4 separate regions of the Homo sapiens genome follow, and all the other regions are linked to region 2. The links are contacts of gene promoters, found by promoter capture Hi-C in blood cells and fetal thymus (Javierre and others, 2016). All regions are on one chromosome and are shown on one strand. The core of a region is centred on a gene start or on the middle of the fragment in contact, and the rest is flanking DNA. Distances in the headings are between cores, read along the strand shown. Region 1 overlaps RASSF8 (Ras association domain family member 8). Region 2 holds the start of KRAS (KRAS proto-oncogene, GTPase). Region 3 overlaps RASSF8 (Ras association domain family member 8). Region 4 overlaps RASSF8 (Ras association domain family member 8).

The links. Contacts are between HindIII fragments. The CHiCAGO score rates a contact against its expected background, and 5 or more counts as called.
Region 1: a contact is called between a fragment that was not itself captured here and the fragment with the promoter of KRAS in region 2, in 2 of 17 cell types (M1 macrophages and fetal thymus). The highest score is 5.3, in M1 macrophages.
Region 3: a fragment that was not itself captured here is called in contact with the fragment with the promoter of KRAS in region 2 in 1 of 17 cell types (M2 macrophages); the score reaches 6.7 in M2 macrophages.
Region 4: a fragment that was not itself captured here is called in contact with the fragment with the promoter of KRAS in region 2 in 1 of 17 cell types (M1 macrophages); the score reaches 5.5 in M1 macrophages.

Annotation. Positions count from the first base shown.
Region 1 is chr12:25,959,316-25,964,319 of GRCh38, forward strand. All of the region lies in intron 1 of RASSF8 (Ras association domain family member 8), which reads left to right. It overlaps RASSF8-AS1 (RASSF8 antisense RNA 1), which reads right to left and starts at 127. Exons shown (of 4, transcript NR_038228.1): 1 at 11-127. The HindIII fragment of the contact is 2,695 bases long and covers 993-3,687 here.
Region 2 is chr12:25,248,905-25,253,914 of GRCh38, forward strand. It overlaps KRAS (KRAS proto-oncogene, GTPase), which reads right to left and starts at 2,025. Exons shown (of 5, transcript NM_004985.5): 1 at 1,847-2,025. RefSeq lists silencers at 1,626-1,675, 1,736-2,585. The HindIII fragment of the contact is 14,779 bases long and covers 1-4,469 here.
Region 3 is chr12:26,032,135-26,036,778 of GRCh38, forward strand. The region is part of intron 2 of RASSF8 (Ras association domain family member 8); the gene reads left to right. Among named protein-coding and RNA genes, the nearest start is that of RASSF8-AS1, 75 kb to the left of the region's middle. The HindIII fragment of the contact is 1,067 bases long and covers 1,315-2,381 here.
Region 4 is chr12:25,988,168-25,993,152 of GRCh38, forward strand. All of the region lies in intron 1 of RASSF8 (Ras association domain family member 8), which reads left to right. Among named protein-coding and RNA genes, the nearest start is that of RASSF8-AS1, 31 kb to the left of the region's middle. The HindIII fragment of the contact is 5,683 bases long and covers 1-4,920 here.

The sequences.
Region 1 (5,004 bases), core at 1,090-3,589, 710 kb after region 2:
CTGCGTTCACCTTTCCTGGTGTGTCACCCTTTGCGCCTCTCCTCGCGGCACACAAGCCGCGGACTGAAAAGTACGAGCTTGGTCTTTGCTTTTCTGCTTCCTCCCAGTGTCCTTGGCAAGGGAGTTTAGAGGCCACTTTTCTTGCAAAGGGAATTTTATGTCTGGTTTTTAAAATATTTTTTCCTCCGGATGGAAATCGGATGCTCGCTTGCCGGGTGGCGGTTTGGTGAACGCTTTTCTCCTCTAAAAAAATATTGGTTTATAGGTTTTTAAATTTCATTTGAACTATTAACCATCTGCATTCTATTCTCCTTTGCCGCCAGTCCCTTTGGGGAGGGGAGTCCAGAAGAGGGGACGTTCAAAGTAATTCTGACTTGCAAACTAGAAAGTTTGAGAGGGTAAATCGCACAAAGCCGGAAGATTCAACTTGAAGGGACGCGAGCTTTGAATGTGGGTCCTGGTGCGGCACTGGGTTTTAAAAGATGAGTACTTGGGTTCGGAATCCAGTGTTGCGTTGTTATTTTAGCATCATAGAGCCGCCTGGTGTTGCTAAACCACTACTTTCCCAGCCTCAAATGGCATCTTGAACAGTGCAACGTAGGATATATAATTGCGGGTCAATATTGTTGCTGATCTTTAGGGATTTAGAAGCGAAATGAATGCAAATCACGTCTCATAGCTGACTTAAACCTGTCAGGTTAGCCCTGTCAGGTTAGCATTAAAGCATTTCATTAAAAAAAAAAATCCTCTAGCCCTGTGACAGCAGGGACGAACATTTATGGATTTTCCAGTAGATTGTGGCTCAGCAATTCATTAGATCTGCTTTGTCCCCAGGAAGCATTTTAAAATATGTATAAATCTCTGCTTTTCTCTCCATTAGATTAACCACTCATTCTGGTAGGGGGCCCCAGGTAGTTTTTATTTTCTTTTTTGCCTTTCATCTTGGAGTTGCCAGGAGTTGCCATCATGTTATGAAGGAACAGAAAATGAGAAGCTTTCTTAATGGGTTTTCGACATCCTGTCCTTTGCCAGAGTGAGGCGGTAGTGAATGCCAGCCAGCTTTCTGCAGGGAGAGGTGCAGGGTGGACGCAAAAATCAGGACGCAGGAGACAGCACTATCATTTGGGGAAGTGGTTTGTGTGAGTTTTATCTTTTAGCGGGCATACTAATGGTACTTTTAATTTTATTTATCTCTATGAGGCACACTCCCCAAACCATAAAATTACACATGACCATCCCCCACTTGAAGAAGACTGAACATAGTTTGATGATTATTCTATTCAAGGATCAAGTACAACAAAATATAATTTGTAATACAGATGATAAAACCTTTCAAAAATCTCCCCCTTCCTCATTTTTTTCCTCAAGAGTCTCCAGGTGGTACTTTCTGTGATGGACACAATTGGCAGTAATGCACTGAGTTCTTTCTAGGTTTATTGATCAAATCTTATGTCTGGGCTTTAGTAGCTTAGGGGTGCATTAGAGGGCCCTGAGAGGGAGCAAATCATGGGGCTGTGCAGGCAGGAAAGGCACTTCACTTTGCAGAAGTGTCAGTGTGCTTCTGGAAAAAACAGTTACAAAGAACAGAGAGTGTTTAAGTTGTTTATAGGATGCATGTTTCCTGAATTTGGCATTTGGTTCAGATATTTGGTAATTACAGATTTAAAATTCGACATGGTTGTATAATTTGTTTTGCCTTTTATTTATTTTTTTAAGGTTGCAACCTTTTAACCTGAATCTTCAGTGTTTGGCTCTTGTAGGCTTCTATACGTGGTGACTTACGTCAGTTTTTGACCTGACTGCCTTGTGTTTTGAGAAATGATTAGTTCTTCAGGGTTTCTGACTCATTAATTGATCTGTTTTATGTTGATGTATATAATGACTTGGAAGTAAAAATATTGTTTGCCGTGGGATATTGTTGTCTTTTTCTTATGGTTAATTCCTGGCATAATGGCTTTGCTCCTTTATTATAAAACATTAAGATCTTAGATATCTTGCTAGTGTTCAAAACATTACAAAACTCTTTGCAAGTAAAAGTGGAGTGGGAATGGGAGTTGGATAGAAAAACATGCATCATAAATTAAAGATTTGGATTACAAAATAATATAACGTTTATTTACTCTTCTTTGATGCTAACTTGCTCTAACCCTAAATAGACTTAAAAATTCAAAGTGTAGAGAGAGTTTCCAAGTATTCTGTATAGTGGAAAGAATGTTTACCCCACTGCCAGCCAGACTTGGGTTGCACGTGTGACTTTGTCACTCCCGAGGTGAGTGAGCTCGGCCATGCCACTTCAGCCTCTGTGATCTACAGTTGCATTTCTGGAAAATGGGGATACCACTACTTAAAGGGATGCTATGGTGAGTAGAACATCTAATATATATTAGATGTGCCTGGCACATTTCAGCCAATAAATGACAACATCTCAAACTCCTTCAGAATTGAGCTCTTGGTCACTCAAACTTTCAAACTGTTCCCCCTCCATTTTTCATCTCATCCATCCAAGGAGTAGCTCACTCCACTCTCTCTTTTCTTCTATCAGCCCTAGCAAACCAGTCCATCATAAAGTCCTGCTGTCCATTTTTATTGCAAAATCTCTTTCAAACCGGTCTGATTTTCAGTCCCCACTATTCTGCCATCCTAATGCAAGCCACTGTACTGTATTATCTTTTTCCTTGGTGCGGTGCCTCCTGCACACACTCTGCACCCCTTGCAGTCTGTTTTACTACCAGCAGCCTGAAAAAAAAAAGAAAAAGTATTTGCCGTCTTAAAGTTGTCAGGGCTCTCAGGAAACACATTTATTTATTTTTGGGATAAGATACCAAATCCTTGACATTACTTCAGGATCCTGCATGATTTGATCTCTACATCCACTTGCATCTCTTGCTGTCATCTTGGCCAGTTCTCCAGCAGACTAGCCTCAGGCCTGTGGCTCATGCTGTTGGTCTCCCTATTTTAGGATCATCTCCTTGAGTAACTTATCATCCTTGGGTGCTAGCTCAAATGTCCTTTCTCATAAAGGTCTTCTCTGACAAGCCCACCCTTATCGTCATGCGAATTAAATGTCCTTTATTTTCTCCCTCATAGCGTAATCACTTTTGCTTCTGAATATTTACCACAATTTATATATTATTTAATCACTTAGGGTCCTTTTCTTGCCCTTTAGGTTAATATGAAGTTGATAATACCTGGTTTAATCACCAGTGCCCAGTATATGTAGTAGGTGCTCAATAAATATGTTGATATAATGAGTAAGATCGTAATATCAGTTTGTATCTTTATCTTTTTTTTTTGAAATGGAGTCTTACTATGTTGCCCAGTTGGTCTTAAACTCCTGGCCTCAAGTGATCCTCCTGCCTCAGCCTCCTGAGTAGCTGGGACTACAGGTGTGTGCCACCATGCCTGGCTTCTGTATTTGTATCTTGATTGCCTTCTTTATCACTGTTAAATTTGCTTTTCATGATAGAAAAGCCAGACCCACACTTTTCTATATTCCTTCTTTGCTGGTTATATGTATAATATGAAACGGCCTTTGCAAATATCAGGTAAAAATGCATGTAGGTTCTGTGAAATATTCGTAGTAATAAATTGAGACACCTTTTAATTAGTGTTACCCTTGTGACTTTCTGTTGTACATAATCCTTTTTCTAAATACATCATTAAAATAATTATTTTTTTATCAGCATAAGCTTACTGAAAGGAAAAAAAATCTTACTGTGCCTTACTATTTTACAGAGCGTCACATGATAACACGTTAGTCAGCTGCTGTCGGCTGGTGGTGCCAGACATCAAAGGAAGATTGGGAAAACTTTAGTAGAAAAACAAGACCTAGAGTTCTAAGGATGCTCAGTGCTGTCCAGCTGTTGATGTGACTTGCATGGTAACCAGACATCACTGGACCATACACTTAAGAGAGAGGAGGAGTTTTTTTTAAAAAAAGTGGGAGCCACCTAGAAGTCTGGAAGTTCTTTTCTTCTCTCTCACTAAAGCATTCCTTGTTTTAGCCAAAAAAAAAAAAAAAAAAAAAAGTCTCATGACCTTCCAAGGCCAAGGAAGGCTTACAGCTTTGAGTATTTTTGTCATGTGGTTGCTCTTTACGAAATATTAGCTTGATGTCCTCTAACTCTGAAGTACTTATGTCTGTTATTGATGTTTGTAATCTCTACTTCTTACATAATTCTGCATTTTTCTCTTGACTTGTTTTTTAGGACTTTAGTATTCCTTAAAAATCATTTCCTCACACCCTTAGAGTGTAGTTCTAGTTCTTTCTAGTTTTGTATCTTATAGATCACTGAGTGTGTGGGGGCACTTTGGAGCTGATTCAAGTCCTTCAGAACGTACTCCTCTGCAGTCCACCTCGGGGGTTCCCAAACTGTGATCCTTTGAGTGGTCTGGACCCTGAGGTTTCCGTAGCCTGGGTGCTCTTGGGTTGGGAGAGCAAGGAGGATGAAAGCAGCATTTTTGAGCCCCTGTTGGGTGCTCTCGAAGAGGAGGAGTGAGTAGTTTATCTGGTCAGAATTGGAAAAGTGAAGCTTAGGCTTTCTTTCCATATATTTGCTTCACAAAAGAAAATTGTTCCTTTTGTTCCTACATTTCCCCACTCCTGATTTTCTAGTCAGGAAGGCATGAGAAGAGAGAGATGCCCCTGCAAGCCAGACCCTTACCCTGGTGCTTATTTAGACCTGATTTTAAAAATGTTGAGAGCAAGCCCTGAGAGGGGCACACCAGGTGATTTGCCTCGTGTAGGCCCTCTGTGCCTGCAGGACATTCGCATCACGAGTAGCTGCCACTGTGGAGGAGAGGAAAGTTATGGTTGGGAACCCTTGTTATTTTTTTTCCACCATGTATATATGTCCACTGGTTACTTGGGTGACCTTGAACAAGTTGCCTTGAGCTTTTTAACACCAATAATATTTATTACCCATTTATTTCACAGACTTGCTATAGGATTTAGAAAGCTATTCTTAGCAAGTGTTTTTTTTTTTTTTTAAATCACATTCAGAT
Region 2 (5,010 bases), core at 775-3,274:
TGATATCTGTAGTCTATAACATGCAGAGTCAGCATTTTGGACCTCAGTCACTTCAGTGACACCAGTTTTATGGTTAATTCTGAGCTGATAATTACAAATAGACCTTTCCCATTTATAACTTATTTGTAAAATGATTTCTATTATAAACATAACATATACATTGTATAACAATTAGAAAACCTGTCTGTTTTGATGGATCTCAAGATTTAAGAAGGCTTAGACTTCAGCTATAAGATGCACATGCCACTGTGGGAGGCCGAGGCGGGCAGATCACGAGGTCAGGAGTTCTAGACCAGCCTGACCAACATGGTGAAACCCCCGTCTCTACTAAAAATACAAAAAATTAGCCGGGCATGGCAGCAGACACCTGTAATCCCAGTTATTCGGGAGGCTGAGGCAGGAGAATTGCTTGAATGCAGGAGGCAGAGGTTGCAGTGAGCCGAGACGGCGCCACTGCACTCCAGCCTGGGCAACAGAGCAGATGGAGACCATCCTGACCAACATGATGAAACTCTGTCTCTACTAAAAATACAAAAATTAGCTGGGCATGGTGGCGTGCACCTACTAGTCCCAGCTACTCGGGAGGCTGAGGCAGGAGAATTGCTTGAACCCAGGAGGCGGAGGTTTCAGTGAGCCGATACCGCGCCATTGCACTCCAGCCTGGGCAACAGAGCGAGACTGTGTCTCAAAAAAAAAAAAAAAAAGGAGATGCACATGTTTAAGTCTATTTCAGGCGGTTAGCTGGTGGATTGCTACAATTCCTCTGTAAGTTTAAAAAATCATGTAAGTGCTGTTTTGGAGTACTGTAATAACTCTTGAGATGTAGAACACATCTGCAAAATGAGGGTAGTATAAAAGAGACGAGGGGATGAGGGTAATACATAAGAAATAGGGGAAAGGACAAGAACAGGTAAATTAAACTTCAAGTACTATTTTTGCTATTGCTGTCTACACTCAACTAGCAAGGAAAAAGCCTTGCTTCTGCTCTGCGGGTTTTCTTCGGGTTTAACTTGACCAAGCAAAACAGACCATCTGGGATTAACTTTTTCCTTTTCACTGTAGGTCACAGGCTCTACGTGTAGGGTGTTGGCCACCTGTTCTTCCACCATCTCTACCTCCACCTCCTCCTTTGTGGCCACAGCAATGTCACAGCCCATACATGGGGGAGGGGAGCATTCAGGAACTCGGAGGCAGATGCATTTTTTTCCAAACACAATAACCTCAAACAGTGGTCTCTAAGCACTTTCCTATGCTCTTCCAAAACGTGACCTCCCCTCTTACTCACACATCCCCTACACACGGAAAAGGACCACTATCCGTCCAGCCTGCGCTCGAGGGAGAAGTTTATACCTTCGTCCTAGAGATGCCAAATGCAGCAGGGAAGGCTGGACCGAGGCAGCCGAGTGCTGGAAAGGGAGGCAAGAGGTGCGGGAGCGGGGAGAGGGGGAGGGGAGGCCGGGGCGCCGCGGGAGTAACCTCCACCGCACCCCACCGCTCCGAGGGGCAGCCGGCCCGGCCCGAGTTTCTCCCCAGAAGCCTCCAGCCGCGGCTCTCGGGGAGGAGGAAGGAAGGGGTTCCCCGTCCAGGAAGCAGCACCAGCGGCGACCGCCTCCAGCCTCACCCTCCTCAGCCCCGCACCGCCCATTCCTCACTCCCCGCGCCGCCGCGTCCGCGCGCCTCCCCCCTGCAGACCCCTCTCACCCAGCCCGCCCCGACCCCGCGCCCGCGCCCCCCACCCGCCCCTCCGGGGACCCCTAATTCATTCACTCGCCGCCGGCCCCGCCCGGCGCCGGCAAAGAGGGTCGGGACCCGGGCAGGGGCCCAGGAGGGGTGGTCCGCTCCGTACCTCTCTCCCGCACCTGGGAGCCGCTGAGCCTCTGGCCCCGCCGCCGCCTTCAGTGCCTGCGCCGCGCTCGCTCCCAGTCCGAAATGGCGGGGGCCGGGAGTACTGGCCGAGCCGCCGCCACCTTCGCCGCCGCCACTGCCGCCGCCGCTGCTGCCTCCGCCGCCGCGGCCGCCGCCTAGGAAAATCGAGCTCCGAGCACACCGATGAGTTCGGGGCCGGGCGGCCGCAGAGGGCAGAGCTATCGATGCGTTCCGCGCTCGATTCTTCTTCAGACGGGCGTACGAGAGGGAGCGGCTGAGGGCGGTGTGGGAAGAGGGAAGAGGGGGAGGCAGCGAGCGCCGGCGGGGAGAAGGAGGGGGCCGGGCCGGGCCGGCGGGGGAGGAGCGGGGGCCGGGCCGGCGGAGGAAGGGGTGGCTGGGGCGGTCTAGGGTGGCGAGCCGGGCCGGCTGGAGAGCGGGTCTGGGCGGCGCCTTGGCGGGAGGAGGGACTGCCGGACCCACGCGGCGGCCCGCCCCCTGCCTAGCCGCAAGGCTGTCCCCGCAGCCGCCAATTCTGACCCGGAGCGGGACCGGACCGCGGCGGGCTGTGCGGATGCCACCAGGGAGACGCCGCGAGCGGCCACGCCGCCCCGCTGACCGGTCTCCACAGAGAAGCTGCGAAGAGCACCCCGCCACCCTCAGGGTCGGCCTATACTGGCGCGCATCCATTTACTATCATTGACTGCATGTAAATAAACAAGCAGTCACCAAAAGTGGGAGGCGACTTCGGGGACTTAGGGAGACCGGGCGGACGATTTCCCACACCGGGGCTGTCTGATCGCCGCCCCGATTATTATCAGCCTCAGCACTTGGGCTGGGAATTTAGCCCCAGGCCCAAACAAACACGACAGACCCTTTCAACGCTAATCTTCTCGGGTCAGGAGGCTTGTGATATTTTGCTATCTTTCTTGATATTTTGAACCCATCACAAGGTCTCTAAACAGGGACTTCGCTTATACCCAGGGCCCCTGAAATCACAAACAAAAGACAACTGTTTTTAAGTAGAGATGGCCTTGGTAGTTTAGACCTGAGGAGAGTCATTCAAACATTAATTAGAAGACAGATTAATCAGTTAAAGTTCGTGGAGTTAAGACATTAAACAATGGGGCAATTAAACATGCTAGCATACCCGGAGTCTGTGTTGATAAACTACCTAGAAATGTATCTTGGGAGAGTCTTGAGGATTGAGGGCTGGAAAAGCAGCGCCTGTACCTGATAGGATCGCCCCTCCTCCGAGACTTTCAGTTCCATTCCTCTAGTCCACATCATAAACCACCAATAAAGCTGAATTTAAATCCCAGCTATTATGTCTGTTAACCAAGGCTTTACATCAACTGTCATCCTTTCCTTTCTACTCTTACACGGGCTGTAATCTGCAAGGTTTATTCCAGTCTCCCCCTCCTAGCGCCAGGTGGAAGGGGCAGAAGAGAAAAGTGAAAGACAGGGAAGGGGAGAAAATGTGCCTACTCTATGTTAAGTACAAGCTAAATCTTTTGCACTTATCGTATCATCTTATTTAATCATCACGACAACCTTATGAGGTAAAATACTTTTTACCGTTTTACAAATGACGAAACAGATTTAGAGGTTAAAACGTTGGCACAAGTTCACATAGTTAAAAAATGGAGTATACTTCATGTCGGATCATAGTCACTCTACTCCCAGATCATCAGTGGCCCTCATTCCACTTGACATAAAAGCAAAATTCTTCTCAAAAATCCTACATGGCCTTAAATTATTTGATATCCCCTACCCTCTTCTCTGAACTCTCATCCTACTGTTCTCCCTTCCTTACTTACGTAGATAAACATTGGTTACTGGCTGTTCCTTGAAAATGCCAGGCAGGCGTCTTCCTCAGGGAATATGCACTTGCTACCCCTCTGGCACCTCATTTAAATCTTTGTTCCAAAGTGTTTTTAAAAGGAGATCTTCCCTAAAAAGATCATCTTTGATACTGTAATTTCGCCCTTGTCCCAGATCTGTCTCTTTTCCTACTTTTTCTCCAGAGCTCTCATCACCTTCAATAATACACTATCTATTTTGTTTTCTTGTCTCTCTACCATCAGAATGTAAGCTCCATGAGGGCATGGGTTTTGGTCTGTTTCATTTACTGCTAAATTTCCAGCACCTAAGACAGTCTCTGACACAAAAAGGCATTCAATAAATATTTATGGAATGTTGAATGAGTGAATCTGTGGACCCTCTGTGGATTCTAAATCCTAATCCATGAACTCTGTGACTCTAAATCTTTACTTTAGACAGAGTGTCTTAAACCTCCTGTCAATCTCTGTCTTCATCTTAACAAAATCTGCTTTGAAACTTAGGTCACCTTCTGATAAGCCACATTCCGTGCAGCTCAGAGATACTTATCTCGTACATAATAGACACAAGGAATTCTTAAATGAATGAATTTGCGCTTATGTGTATGCTACTTTGTGGTCACTCAAGCATAAATCACAGATTTATTTTGTACAACATCAAGTGCATGATAAGTTCTTGTTTCCTCTTACAGCTGTGAATATGATGTTCTTCCTATAGTTGATGTTCCATACATCTTAAAAGGACTATAATATAGAAGAGGGGAAAGCTTTATATAGCACTTTTATGCTGATTATAAAAATTCTGGCATTAGCAGAAACCTAATCCATCCACATGGTCTCAGTTATCATCTAGGCTCATGATTCGTAAAGCAAATCTGCATCCAACCATTTGTTCCACGCACCCCACACTCCAGTTTTACCTCAGACACTTTCTCTTTCCTTTTCACTTCCACAGCAATTTATACATATGGTATGTCAGGTCTTTCTGCCGTTCAGTCCTGGGTACTTTCTTAGAAGCCGGCACCACCTCCTTGCAACATTACCTTTCTTTCCTTAACATAGAGGTCTCAAGGGTAAATGCTTTAGGAATCACCTGCCATGCCTACCAAAAATGCAAGTTCCTAGGCCCCTCACCCAGATATTTTATTCAGTTGGTCTAAGGTAGACCAGTAATCTTCATTTTTAGCAAATCAAATGATCCTAAACTGGTAGTTCACTGTGTGCACATTGAGAAACTCTGATGTAGATATTCAAATTCTTGGCACCTGCACTTTCTACTGTCTTCAGGGGTTCCTCTTTCTCGAGC
Region 3 (4,644 bases), core at 598-3,097, 780 kb after region 2:
AAGGTCCTTCAGTTTGTAGCAGTTTGTTAGCCCAGTTTATCCTTTCTTGTGATGAGCTAGTCATTTTGCATTTTCACATATAAAACTTTGAAATGTCTTTTAAAAAGTTTATGGGAATATTGTGTATGTTATTGCTTCATTTTCCCCGAAAGGAAGTGGGAGAAATTTGAGTCATTAATATACATTAAAATTCTGTGTATGTTTTTCGTACTCATAGCAGGTTGTTCCAAATCATCTAGGTAACAAACTTTGGAATGTTGATAGAAAACAAACTTCTAGCACTGTTTGTATGGAGAAGTATTTCCCAAAGTCAAGTTCTAGGACTCTTGGGACTGTTTCATGGCTGAGTCAAAGGTTCCCTTGTGACATGTGAATTTTTAGGAAGGAGAACAATGACAAATTTTTTTGAAATTGCTACATTAGCATGCAACAAAAAATTCTGAGGGAAATGTTTCCTGGCAGTTTTTTTATTATATTTACCTGCAATTTATAGCTTAAGGGAGTTTTAACCCATGAAACCTCCAAATCTATTAAAAGTGAAAAGAGCTAGATAGATTTCATTAGCATGCGTAATGCCCAGTTTCCATACCCATCTATAATCATTTAAAGCAGGAATCATAATGGGAATATGAGCTGAGAAATTCTGTTGATGTTTGAAATGTCTGGAGTGTCAACATAATTAAACAGCGTATGTACACAATTGGCCCTGCTCCAAAACCAGTGATTATGTGTCTAACATCAATCCCCATGTGTCTACAAAGCTGTTAGAGTAAACATCTGGAATCTTTTACTACCAAAGCTAAAATATTACATAATCAGTTAAAAGAAAGAGCTTCCTACCCACAGAGGTCCTGCAGAGAGCAATGTATGCTGTGATCTTGTTTTCAAGCAGGCCTGTCTTCTTTAGAGTAGCAACTAAATATATTAGATACTTCAACTATCCTTGAAATGTGACTTTTCCCCTGAGGTAAATACTAAGGATGGTTTAAATGTTGCTAAATGGTTCAGCTGAATCATAAATACTCTGTAATGAGACCAGAGGGGATCAAGTTGATCAGTGGGAGACCACATTCTTACCAAAACTGAGGCTCAGCTCTCAGGCCATTTCAAGGTATGCTGGAGTTCCTTTGAGCAAAAGAATTTGGTATTTTCTCATGTATGTATTGAAGCACTAAGTAAAAATTGTGATCTTTCAGGTCATAACAGAAAACCCACAAATTGTTTTATAGCATGTTTTTGATTTCACAATATAAAATGACAAGAATAATGAGATCTTCCACATCTTTTTATATTTTTCCACTATATTTGTGTTAAAGCTTAGGTATTATTTTCATTCTTTCATGCTAAAAGCACATTAGCATTTTCTAGAATGTAAGTGGTTTTGCTAGAAAAATGATATTAATATGATTATCCAGATTGTTATTTTGGAGGGAAAAAGGAAATAAGTTCTGCAAACACTGTTGGGTTTCTTTTTTTTAATGATAGAGGCATAAGATGAATAGTATCCATCTTCATAGAAAGAAAGAAACGTAGAGCCAAGTATTGAAATTTTTTAATGGCATATTTCTTTGTGGAGGTGAAAACTGTTTCTTTGCATTTAATATGCACATCTGCCTTGTCCCTGTCAAGTTTGCCACCTTCCAGATAAAGGTTGAATGCCAGGACTCTCAAATCAGCCTCCACTCAGATCTCAGCTCCCATCTCCTACCAGTTGTATTGTCTCCAACTAGTTCACCTTTCTGAGCCTCCAGGGCCTCATTTGTAAAATGGGGATGAGAATAAAAACATGACCTCAGTGGATTATTCTGAGTCGTTGTATGTGCCTAGCAAAGAGGAAGCACTTGGATCTGCTGGTGCCTTCTCCCCACCACCATCATGTCGACCAGACCCCAGCAAGCTAGCAGGGAGGTGGTGGTGGAGTGGGGAGAAAGATGTTCCAAGCAGAGGAAGCAATACATGGCAGGGCAGGGAGATGTGGCTGCCTCACAAAGGTGGGGAGTAGTTGAAGAACGGGCTGGAGTGAGGTGGGCAAATGGTAAGCACGTGGCACACTGTTCAACTAAGATAATCACAGCATTAGCTGGGATTTGGGGGTGAAGGAGTAGGAGTGAGGGGAGATGTGTCAATGTCCCTAAGTCCACAGGGGCAGGACAAAATAGCCCTATGGTCTGTCTAGGACAGAGGTGTTCAATCTTTTGGCTTCCCTGGGCCACATTGGAAGAAGAATTGACTTGGGCAACACATAAAATACACTAACAATAGCAGATGAAGTAAAAAAAAAAAAAAAATCTCATGATGTTTTAAGAAAGATTATGCATTTATGTTGGGCCGCATTTAAAGCCATCTGGGCCGCATGCAGCCCGCAGGCCACATGTTGGACAAGCTTGATCTAGGATTTCTATCATTCCTACCACTTCCAAAATTAAACTCATTCTTTTCAGTGGGAATGACTAAGCAAATAATCTTAGGGGGGAGAAAAAGATCATTATTCTTTCTGACAGGCTAAGTAACTCCTATTCCTTTTCCTCCAGCATTTATTTCCCATATTTCGAAATTAAGGAACCTCCTACTTTTTACATCCTAGCTAGAATGCATGAGGGGAAATCAAACAAGGGTGGGATAAGATCCAAACACAGCAAAATTATTTATTACATCTTTTCCATGTAATGTGCCTATTAAAATTCATGATATTTAAGCTACATTAAAAAAAAACATCTAACTAAAAAACACCATACAGCAGATTCACCAAGTGTAGATGCATTCTCATTGGTTTGTTGTAGACTGCTTTTACCTTTCTAGGTACTGTTTGTCATAGCATTTGGTTTTTAATTTCTGTGTGAATTAGTCACTATGAACTATCCTATTTTTGGTATTATGGTGATTACTCTGGTGTTGCCCTATAAACTTTAATAGACGTTTTTCCAGTTGTCCAATACTACTGGTAAAAATTATTAATCCCTAGAAGTAAGGTTAGTTAATGAACTTCTCTTCTAGGCTGTACTAAGGCACTGACCCCTACTCTGTGGAAATGGCTTTCCAACCAGTTTTACTCTTGTATGATAAGTTGTAGGGTTTAGTGATAGCTAGTCCCTGTCTTCAAAGTTGGCTGAGAAGAATGCTACTTCGGCTAGAAACAGAAGAACTTCTTCACACAGTTAATATTTCTTTAAACAAAATGAAAGTGTTTATTGTAAGAGAAAAAATTTTAAGCCCAGAAAATACTGAAAAGATGAAATTATATAATCATATAATATAATTATATGAAATTATATAATTATATAAGTATATGAAATTATATAATTATATAATATAAGTATATGAAATTATATAATTATATTATATAATTATATAATTATATGAAATTATATAATTATATAATATAATTATATGAAATTATATATAAAAATTATATATAGTGTATATATTTTATATTATATATTGTATATATAATTTTATATTGTATACATAATTATATATATAATTTTATATAATTATATAATTTCACCTTTTCAGTATTTTCTGGGCTTAAAATTTTTTCTCTTACAATAAACACTTGTTTTTTTTTAAAGAAATGTTAACTGTGTGAAGTTCTTCCATTTCTAGCCCAAGTAGCATATAATACATATATCACTATATATCTGATATATATGATATACATCACTAGATATACAATATATGAAATTATATATAATATAATTTCATATAATTATGTATTATATAAAATATAATAAAATTATATATTATATATTATATATAATTATAATCATATATGATTTCATATATATGATATATATCATATATTTCATATATTTTTATATATTATATATTTATAATTTATATATATATAAAGCCATCCATGATTTCACTCCTCTGAGCATAAGGGCCCAAACTCAGTCTAAAGGGCAGATACCATGACAGCTTCTTCATTTTAGCTTTTTTCTTCAGCTCAAATCCATTCAAGAACAACCTAGTTTACTCCCAGTGATCACTCATTCATCTCTTTAATATTAATCTACATCTGGGCCTCTCTTGCTTAAATCCATGTTCCTCGCTAACTTCTGGATAAGATCAGCAATGGCAGAGACGCTCTGAATATTTTTTGTGAATCATATCTTTATAATTGGAGGGCACATCGGGGGAAACCAATGGCTTCTGTTTCTGTTTCGTTTTGTTTTGTTTCATCCATCCCTTCAAGAAAAAGAGAAGGCTTCTGTTTCTTGAACTGAAAAATTCTTACCAAGGAATAAATAGAAAAGCATTTAACAAAAATTTAAGCTATTCTTAAAATTTTGATACTTATTTCAATATTTATTATTTTTTAGAAAGTTATTTTTATATATGGGCCATTTGGAACAGTTTCATTTTTTAAATTTTAATGTAAGATGTCCTAATTTTTATTTTAAAAGAGCCAAGATGACTTTGAGACTAATATTTAATATTTAATATAGCCCAGAAGACTGGTAACTTGAATTTTTTAAAAAGTGTATGTCTGGTCGAGCGCAGTGGCTCACGCCTATAATCCCAACACTTTGGGAGGCTAAAGCAGGTGGATCACCTGAGGTCAGGAGTTCAAGACTAGCCTGGCCAACATGGTGAAACCCTGTCTCTACTAAAAAAATAAAAAATAAAAAAATAAAAAATTAG
Region 4 (4,985 bases), core at 829-3,328, 740 kb after region 2:
ATGTTATTTTTTAAAAAATGAATTCCTTCCTAGCATTTGAGCTTGCTTTTTTAGTAGGCTCTTTTTAAAATAAGTTTTTTTGAGACCATAAAGGGAACACAGTGGGAAAAAGTATAAAACATCCATGCAGACAGCCTTCAACTCAAAACTGTCAGGTCTTTAAAAGCAATCTTGGAACTTTTCTTTTTGTCTGGTAGCAGTCCTATTATTGAACAGATGGTTAATTCACACAATAAGCTGGATAATCAAATCCGATGAGCTAAGATGGGGTTAACTAGAGCAATCTGTAGTATTTAGAAAAATTTCCAGGGTGATTGGGGAATGGTGACTGCAGTCATTATTTGGGATTCGTTTCTGTTAGTACAAAAATAGAACTTAAAGTCACAATTTAATAAAAAAAATTTCTTTCATTTAGAAAATAGCCCTCTCCCTCATGACTAAACAATCATTTGTAGGGGAGAAGAAGAGAGATTTGTATCAGCCACCTGCACTGCCAGTTCAGGAAATAGTATGTGAAATTCCTGCTTTATCAGGAACCCCTCCTGGCCTTCCTCTGGTTCTCATTTATTGAGTTTGCCAGATCCTGTGCTAGGTGGTGGGACCATAAAGAAGAAATGGGATGGGATTCCATGGTATGGTAGGGAAATGGGTCTAAACAAGTAACAAAACAGTGTGGAAACCTCCCGAGAATTCCTATAGTATGTTTAGAGAAACTGTCTCCTGGAGGATGGTTCACAACATCTGTTTAATTACCTTTGTAATTTTCTTCACTTAACTTAAAAACTAGTTAGCTTTTTGAATTTTTCTTGATTTTAGAAAGCATCTCTGAGGGGTATGCCTATCTTGCTGGAATTCTGCAAACTCACTGTGCCTCCAACAGAGCCTTGTACTTACCAAGCGGTAGTAAAGACAGATTTACAATGTCTCCTTTGCAGAGTGATTCTACTTGTCTGTTCTTCAGGTTTCTTTCCCTCCCAACATTTCTGCCTGTCAGAATGTTTTCTCTTAAAACTAAGGCCCAACCATATGTTTTCTCATAATCACTGGGTCACACCCACAGCCATACTGTTCTTTTCTGGGGGCTTCCTTGATGTAAACCTTTAGTATGTCCTGATTTCACATTTTCTGATGTGTGTTCTATAGTGAAACACAGTTTCTACTACTAGTGTGTTTTATATTTGTCTTAATCTATAGGCATTTAACAGTGTCTTTCTTTCCCCCCACCCCCTCTTTCTTTCTGATTCAAATTGGAATGATAGAAGACACCTAAATAATATGATGAATACTTATCAAAACGGCGAAGTTGGTTTTCTGAAAAAAGCTCTCTGTTGTGTGAAATATTGAAGTGTTATCCAGGAGAAGGAGACTTTATTCAAATAGTCATCTTATAGCTTGTCTACTAAAGTTGATGAAATTCATTTTCCAAACTGGTTTAAACAAAAATGATTACTTAGCTATTTAAAAAACAATTGATCATATCTCTTTCTTGTCTTATCCCTTCTCCTCTGCCACTCTTCTGATTTCTTGCATAACATTTAATAACAAATCATAAGACTAACAAGGATGCATTTCAATTCCTTATGGTTTATGGATCAGTTTATTAGGTCAAGGGTGTGGTGGGGCATGGGGGTGGAGGAATTATGGTAGAGAGTATGAACATTTGCTAAGAGCAGCATGGGATAGGTGAATTTACCCAGTATGGGAGTCTGGCAGAAGTTTTAAAATCAAGTACATCTGAGTTCAAATCAGGGCTCCACCGTTTACTAGTCACCTGAACCCGGGAAGGTACTAAATCTGAAATCTTAGTTTCTTCATGTGCAAAATGGAGACTGTAGGATTGACCTTGACAAGGTTGTGAACAGTGTCTGAACTGGGCAGAGTGGTGCCTGGGACTTATTTGTTGAGTGCCTATTATTACTTTTTAAAGCAAGGAAATGCATCCTGATCAAGTCACCTAATCTTAACCTCAACTTTGTATAACCTGTATAATGGGAATATTGATAAATTAATGTGAAAAAAGTAAAAAAAATTACAGCCATATATAAGCATAAGGGGCTTATTTCATGAAGGCTTCCTGGATATCCACCAGCCATTAGTGATTTCTCTTGTATGAACTCTGCTGTAGCTTTTTTCCAAATCTCTTTGGTGTTTATCAAACATTTATTTGATACTATTGTTACTAGGCATTAGTTACATTTCACAAGTACTGTAGTTAGTGGAATGAAACCCATATCTTCATCATTGTAATCCCTGTGGTATTTTAAATATGATAAGAGCTTGGTAAAGGTTTATTATATAAATAATTAATTTTGGTATTACCATTTTTCTCTGCTTTGCAAACTAATATAGCTTAATAGCATCATAATGGATTTATTTCCATAGAATATCTACCTTATTGTTTCTGTGATCATCTTATTAACATTTCATATGGACTATGTAAAACCTAAGATACCTTCCTTACTAACATTGTGTATTGCGTTTAGCAAAACTGAATTATATTTGGAGATGTAAGTCTTTGTATTTTGATGACAAGGTGAAAAAACCACCTTGAATGTTCCCACTCTTTTATTAGACAACAAAAATTTAGGAATAGTTTAGAATTCTGTAGTATTTATAGTTTATTTTGTGGATACACAGGGATATCACTTATGAAAATGTGCTACCATAGTTTATTTGTAGTTGAATATTTACAATTTCAAACGGGTTTTCTCTTTTCAATAAAAAGAAATGTGCCTAAAAAAATACACACACACACACACAGAAAACATTTTGGGGATCTTGGAGTCACAGAGTAGAGAGTAGCTGGTTTCCTCCAAAACTTTTAGACTTTTTAGCTGATCTATAATACTTAAATAACCAGAGCAATAAACTCTTCTCATTTTTACAGTAATAGAAATGTCAATATTGTCCATTGATTATCTGTCCTGGTGGGCCTAGTTTGGAGGAAGGGAGCACACCCAACAATTAATCAGCTGTCATTAAAAGAAATATACAAGGAAATGAAGGGTTTGCATTCTTCTGTTGTTTAAAAAAAAAAGGTAGAGCCTCTTGGAAACTGGAATTTATTTTGCTCTTGAGTTATTCTTGAGCATTCTATTTTGCTTTTGTTCAGTGTTTAGAAATTACAATAACCTGATATTGTGTTAACATCAATAACTTCTATTTGCATTGCTATAAACTATTTAATTTAAATAAATTACTTATTACTGCATAACAAGTTGCCCCATGCCTACAGACGTAACTTTTTTTTTTTTCTTTTTTTGAACTCTCACCTAGTTTCTTTGGATCAGGGATCCAGGAATGGCTTGGGTGAATGGTTTTAATTCTGGATCTTTAATAAGGTTGCAACCTAGGTGACAGTCCATTTTGTACGTAGTCTACATGAAGGTTTGACTGGGGCTGGAAAATCTACTTCCAAGGTGGTTCACTCACATGCCTCACAAATTTGCGCTGGTTGTTGGCAGAAGGCCTCAGCTCCTCACCATGTGGACCTCTCCATAGGGCTGCTTGAATGTCTGGCTTATATCAGGACAAGTGATCAGAGAGAGCAAGATGGAAGCTACCATGTCTTTATGTCATCATTCCACAATATCCTGTTGGCTGTACAGGTTATCTCTGTTCATTGTAGGAGAAGAATACACAAGGGTGTGAAAACCATTGGGGGCCATTGTGGAGGCCAGCTACCAAAATAAAAGAATGCTTAATCTTTAGCACATTTTTATAAGTGTCCAATTAATGTTTGAATCACGTTAAGTTTTACCAAAAATAATATAATTATTGGTGGGGCTGCCCCAATTTTTATCCTCTCCTTTTCCCCATAATTACATGTTGGTGTTCATTGATTTATGGTCATTTCAAATATTTGTATAATAGATAACTGTTTTTCAGACATGTGGTAATAGGAGTATTATATCTAGGTAAAAGGAATCATTTAGGTGAGCAGGACTTTCACTGAGGATAAGCTCAGAACCACTGTACAATCTGCTGCCATTCTGTAAAACCCTCTGAATTCATCAAGCCTTCAGCAGACATTTATTGAGTACCACTTATGTGTTAGGCAATGTGAATGCAGGTGTCAGTGCAAAGTGTCTCTGCCCTCAAGAAGAGGCAAACATTTCAAACAGTTGTTGAAGAACATGGGCTCTGAGGTCAATTTGCTTGAGTTCAGTTCTTGCCTCTCCTGTTTAGCTCTATGACCCTGGGCCAGTTATTTAACCTTTTGATTCTTTTCTAATTATTCCCTTATTACATATTACCTGCCTCACAGGGTTGTTGTGAGAATTCGATGAACAGTACCAGTGAGTACTAAGTGTCAGCCACTTGAGAATACCTGGAGTGACTAGTTTTGATAAGGGGAGTTTCCAGGGAGTGATGAGATCATATTTGAGTGGAGTCTTGGAGAGTGAGTTGGAGTTTGGCCAGCACAAAAATTTGGTAAGGCCCGCACCTGGGATGCCAACTTGAAGGAGAGGCAGGGAAACTGAAGTGGGGTGAGGTAATGCATGCTACATGGTGGCTTCAGGGGAGGCACTGGAGGTGGGCCTGGACAGCCACGGGAAGGGATGTGAAGGGGTTTGTGGAAAAAACACAGTGCCTGCAGTTTCCTGAGACCGTTTTCACTTAAGCCTCTTGTTTCTCATTGCCTTCCTAGGTACTCGCACACCTGCCAGAGCTCATGTTTGTATTTATGGTTAGGAACATTTTGTCACTGCAGTTACCTGACAAAAGAAGGTTGAACTTTTTTGTGGAGACTTTCAAAAGCAGTAGGATAATAGGATTGGATCTTTTGGTTTGTTAGTTTTTGTAAAGTGACCTGGTGAAGAGTGAACAATGGATTGAGTAGTTAGGAGGTTGTAGGAATCAATGGGGAGCTGAGGGTGGGGGGCAGGTTCACAAGAGCCCAAGCCCTGACTTTTGTCAAGCTTGGCATTTCCCAGAGACACCCTGAGCACATTACATTCCCAGGGTACCCACAGAACTGCCCC